Regions from separate parts of the Homo sapiens genome. Here region 1 is linked to region 2. The links are contacts of gene promoters, found by promoter capture Hi-C in human tissues and cell types (Jung and others, 2019). All regions are on one chromosome and are shown on one strand. Each heading gives the region's core, a stretch centred on a gene start or on the middle of the fragment in contact. The rest is flanking DNA. Distances are from core to core; before and after follow the strand shown. Region 1 overlaps TEK (TEK receptor tyrosine kinase). Region 2 holds the start of MOB3B (MOB kinase activator 3B).

The links. Contacts are between HindIII fragments. The study calls those that stand out against the background at their distance.
Region 1: a contact is called between a fragment that was not itself captured here and the fragment with the promoter of MOB3B in region 2, in 1 of the 25 tissues and cell types used here (lymphoblastoid cells).

The regions. Positions count from the first base shown.
Region 1 is chr9:27,192,647-27,195,346 of GRCh38, forward strand. The region is part of intron 11 of TEK (TEK receptor tyrosine kinase); the gene reads left to right. Among named protein-coding and RNA genes, the nearest start is that of TEK, 85 kb to the left of the region's middle. The HindIII fragment of the contact is 6,550 bases long and covers 1-2,700 here.
Region 2 is chr9:27,528,480-27,531,217 of GRCh38, forward strand. MOB3B (MOB kinase activator 3B) reads right to left here and starts at 1,335. Exons shown (of 4, transcript NM_024761.5): 1 at 1,076-1,335. It overlaps LOC124902107 (dapper homolog 3-like), which reads left to right. Exons shown (of 2, transcript XM_047424279.1): 1 at 1-247; 2 at 541-2,221. The coding sequence ends at 1,529. RefSeq lists silencers at 63-112, 1,083-1,382. The HindIII fragment of the contact is 5,687 bases long and covers 871-2,738 here.

The sequences.
Region 1 (2,700 bases), core at 48-2,547, 340 kb before region 2:
TATTCATGAGCTGGGTGGGAGGGGGAGGAAGGGGAAAGAGGAAGGAAGACCAGGAAGGGTGGTGGTGGGTGAGTGGGTGGGTGGGGATGGAGGTGGCAGGAGTTCGCTTTTGAATGGGTGGGAAAGTGACAGGAAGGCTAGCAACTTCAAGCCAAACTGTTCCTTTATTTGGGTTGGACTCCTGGTCTGTCTCCCTGGGGGAGGAGGTCTGCAGCACTCTGTAGGGACAGAGAAGGAAGCAGATGAGCCTTCAGGAAGGCAGGGCCTCCCCTAGGAGCTGGGATTTACACAGCAGCAACTGTGCTGAGCTTCAGCTCCTGCATTTTATCACTGGCTTCCTGTTTCCATCTTAAGGGCCCAGACCAGGCTCTTGCCACAGGCATATTTTAGAAGTCCCAGTTTATTTATTTTCAAAAATAATTTCCAATTTTTCAAAGTAATTCATGGTCAGAGTCATGACATCAAATAGAATAAGAAGCTTTTATCTAAAGAACAGCATTCTCCTGCTCCACCCTCCACCTCCCAGTCCTGCTTCCTATAGGTAGCCACTTTCATCTCCTTAAGCTATTTCTTATATTTACCTCCCTTTTCTAAATCAGTGGTTCTCAAACCTAAGTGTCCATCAGAATCACTCAGAGAGTTTGTTAAAAGATGTTTCTGGGCCTCGTCCCCAGAGTTTCGGATTCAATGGTTTTGAGGTGAGGATGGGGCCGGGGTTCAAAAATTTGCATTTCTAGTAGGTTCCCAAGTGATGCTGCTGGTCCTGGGTCCACACGTTCTAGATAACATGTGTAAAATTACTTCTGGACTTCTCAGTGGTGTTTGGTATTGACTGGCCTTCTATTGCGTTAATTAACTCTGTGAAGCCTCCTTGATGCTAACCTGACCTCCAGCTTTCTGTTACCCAGGTACCCTCCATTGAAATACTGGAGTGATCTTTTGTAAGGTTCCATTCCTGGTTCTTTGAATTGTTCACTGTGTATAACCATTCTGTTACTCTCTCTTGGTCAGTACTTTATACTTTCAACTTCATATATATTTGATTTATATCACCTAGGAAAGTAAGAATTATCATCTTCCCTATTTTACAGATTGAAAAGTAGAGACTCAGAGTACTTAATAACAGTAAGATGCATCACCATACTAAATCTTCGGGCTTCATATCTTTGTCTTTTAGAGCCAGGATCTTGCTCTGTCACTCAAGCTGGAGAGTGCAGTGGTTTGATCAACACTCATTACAGCCTCTATCTCCTGGGCTCAAGTCATCCTCCCACCTCAGCTTCCTGAGTAGCTGGGACTACAGGCACACCACCACATCTGGCTACTTCAAAAAATTTTTTTTGTAGAGACGGGGTCTTGCTTTGTTGCCCAGGCTGGTCTTAAACTCCTGCCTCAAGCAGTCCCCCAGCCTTGGCCTCTCAAAGTGTTAGGATTACAGGGATGAGTCACCACTCCCAGTCCAGGCTCCATATCCTTTTGTTTCTCCAATTATTATTTCTACCTAGAATCCCAAAGGCACCAGCTTATTATCCCAGTTCACATATTTGCCTGTGTTTTACTCCATTTACTAAAAGTAGAAGGATATGTTATGATTGAGTGAAAAAACCAGGAAGAACATCCACTTTTCTTCTGCAGAGATTGTGCACCCTTAACAGAAACATCCTTCCTTCACACCACCCACCTAGTTTTTATGTTACTAGCAGCATCCTTAAAGAACCAAATGAGACTCAAAAGCTACTCTGAGACTTATAGAAGCATTACACACAAGTAAGAAATGGCTGCTTGGGGACCCACCTGGTTGTGAATATAAAAAATAAACCCAGAAACTATATAGAGAGGAAAAAGGGACCTCTACAACCATGACCCAAGGGATCCCTGATATGTCATCATGTTACTGCTAAAAGGCAAATGGTAGTTAATTCTCTCTCAAGTCACTGTTGGTGAGTCAAGAGGGGAAGAGCATAAACTGACTCAGATGGAAAGTATTTATGGAACAGAACATAAAACACTTCACAGCCCCACACTGTACTGTCTTCAGCCCTCAGAATGTGTTGCAGCCAGGAGGTCTCTCAGAATATTTCAAAGTAGTTCTCAGGGGTAGGCGGGAAGGGGATTATTGAAGGTTCTTCTTTTCCCATCATTTGAATTTTGCTGCTGTTTGCTTTTCATTTCGTCTGGCAGTTGCACTGTTTATGTGTGTTGATTGAGATGGTGAAGGCCAGGGAGTCCGGGAGGGGAAGGAAGAGAACACTTTCTGAACATAGTGCAGAAAGGGGCAGACAGGGAGGCGTATGGGGTAATCATGTTCCCAAAGGGCGGGAAAAGGGGAAATGACTATTTATTGAGTTACTCTTCTGTACCAGGCACAGGATTAGGAGGTGTAAATGTATTCTCCAAAATATCAACTCCCCATTCTCCTTTGTCATTGCAAACCTGCCTAAACCACTCTGGGTGGCTATTTTGGAGGTTAAACTTCAGAGGTTAACAAGAGGAGATGGCATCACCTCTCTCCATTTGCAAAGGTTACAGAGAAAGGGCCATCAGACCTTTTGCATAATGCCAAGAAAATGCATGCCTAGCTGCTGGTTCTCACTAGTCTGAGGGTAGTCAGAACCAGGCTGGTGGGACTTAATTCCCAGTAGATGGAAACAGACCCTTCCTCTCACCTCGAACCAAGAGTAAGAGCAGTGTTTCTCAACC
Region 2 (2,738 bases), core at 85-2,584:
GCGGAGGCGGGGAAGGAACAACTTTCCCTCCGCCCTCTAACCACAAGGGCGGGGTGGGGCGGCCTCGCTGGGGTCGGGCTCCTCCACTTTCCCAGCTGGGATCCCCTGCCGGAGCTGGCGTGGGGGCCGGGGAGGGGGACCAGAGGGGCTTCCTTCTCTCCCCAAGCCCCGCCAGATGTTGGAAAGGCAAACAATAGGGGAAACGCGGAGAAACAAAAGGCCATTCGCCACGATCTCAGTCGGCTGCGTAGAGAGATCTCTGTGGGGAGGGTTAGGGGAGAGGGTCAGGAAAGAGCGCGAGGGGGGGGATCCCGAGAGATTTAGAGTCTCTGGTACTTGCCAGGCACCAGGGGTCGGCGCTTTACCCTCCCAGCAGGGGTCTGAAGGTGGGAAGGGGCAATCAAAGAAAACTTGAAGGGTTTTCACCTTCTTCCCCAGTTCAGGGAAAGGGAGGGGCTGGGATTCCAGATGTTTGACAGTTGTTGGCCCCAAAGTTAAGCGCGATTTGTACGGCCTTTACACGCTCCCCACCTCCGTGAGGCATCGTCAGCCCCGGGGGCGACCTGGCTGACGGTGCGGACTTCCCCTACGCTGCCCCAAGCCGAGACTCCTCCCTCAGGATCAGGACGCCCAAGCGTTGTCCCCCAGCCCAGGCGCACTTTTGTAAAAGTTTGTCTTCCCGCCACCCACAGCCCAACACGCACCCTGCAGGCGTCCGCGGCTGGGGATGGGCTCGGAGTCTTGCACCCCGAAAGAAGGACGATCTTATTGATTTATATCTTTTCAAATCAAGGACAAATCAAGATCCCGGGGTGGAAAGTGGGCGACCCTTGTTCCTGCCGGGAAGTGCACACGAGGAGCCGGCCAGAAACCCAGGCGCCGGCAGGGGTCTGAAGAGGACTCCAGCCCCGGAAGCCCGTGGCCGGCGGGCAGAAGACCGGTCCGCCGCCTCCCGCACCTTCTTGCACCCGCGCCCAGGTGCGCCCCAAACCTCGCCGCCCGCCCGGGCGAGATCGGGAGCGAGCAGCCACCGGGCTGCGCCGCCTCCCCTAGCTTGGAGCGGGTTCTTACTCACCGTGGGGTTTTACCTCCAGCCCAGGGCCCGGTCGGCTCCCTTCGCCGGGTCAGCTGCAGCCAGCGCGAAAGAAAATGGTGAGCTCGGGGCAGGTGGGGCGTCGCTTGCCAATCCACGCAAGGGACTCTGCCGCCGGTGCGCGAGGTCCCGGCGAGCCAACCGGCGGACGGGCGAGCGCCTGGCTCCAGCTGCAGCCGCCGTCGCTCCGGAGCAGCCCCCTCATGCACCCAGCGCGCCGCGCAGCCGGCCGGGGCTCGACTGTCTCGCGGGGACGCCGAGCGGGGACCCCTGGCGGCCGCCTGCGGTATGGCAGCACCGTGGAGAGAAAAGTCGTCTTTGGGATCATCTTCCCTCCGGAAAGAGATGGGACATGACCAGTCTAAGGGGGCTTCCAGCCTTGCAGAAAAGACACTGGGCCAGGGCAGTGAAGAAGGTGTCAGATCAGAAAGGATGATCTCTGGGTCCACAACGGCCACTTCCAAGGCACCTAGAGAGGGGGAAACAGTTTGCCTTCCCCAGGATTTTCTGATTGTTGAAAAATACCATGAACTGCCTGACACAGAGCGGAGCATAAATCATTGGAAAATACTCAGATTCTAGTGGATTTACTAGAACACACTGGGAGTCATGGATGAACCTGGATTTTAAAGCTCAACCCACAGCCCGCCACTCTCTACTTGTGTGGTCTTGGTCTATCTACAACCTTAAAGCCTCAGTATTCTCCTCCGTAAATTGGCGGGGAGCAATATCACCCTTGCAGGGTGATGGTTACGGGTAAACTACATTTGAAACGTTTTTATAGTTTATAGTAACAGAAATCAAATATGAGCTTCCTGCCTTCTGGAGAAAAAGAATTGGATCTTTCACATTTTTCTATTACCCATATGATCACATCTTAATGCATATTGATTGAACTGTACCAAATGACGAAGTACTGCATTTTACCATTCTTACTACACACTTCAAAGAGGTGTGGAAATATATTAAGTAGAAATTAGGATATATAGAGAAAACATCCCTCCTCCAAAAGAGGTTTCTGCAACTAACTACGAAGTGAGAACTTCTAAAATCACTTACATCTTTTGCAATATCATCTCAGATATTGTAAGAAACATTTAATAAATAGTCATGACTTAATGATATCAACCCTGGATTAAATGACTCTAATTCTGTGTCACTTTTGTGTAATGTAAAGATACCGATTGTGAATATAAGACTCAAATATGGGAAAACTGCCAGATACAAAAATACAGCCGCTAAGCAATATTTCTGTTCATCACCGAGGAATCTCATTTCCAAAGTGCCCCAGTTTTTAAGAGGAAGAACACCAGAGTCAGACAGACCCATAGCAGCTGAGTCTAACCTTTCTGAAGCTCTGTTACCTCATCTTATAAAATGAGGATAATATAGGTAGCTGTCATTCAATGAAGGAATGCATACAACATGCTTAGCATAACACCTGTCACATGGTAAGTGCTCCAGGGTCACCACCTATCATTGTTTCCAGCATACAGTTATCACCCCACCGACATGTAGCCCCTCCCTCATGAGCTCAAGAGCCCCCAGCACGTGTTCTACTCACACACGCACAAGCTTCAGTGTCCCTTAAGATGTTATCTCCTGGAAAGTAGGAACAGAAAGAGAATATTTTCAGGTAGTTTGG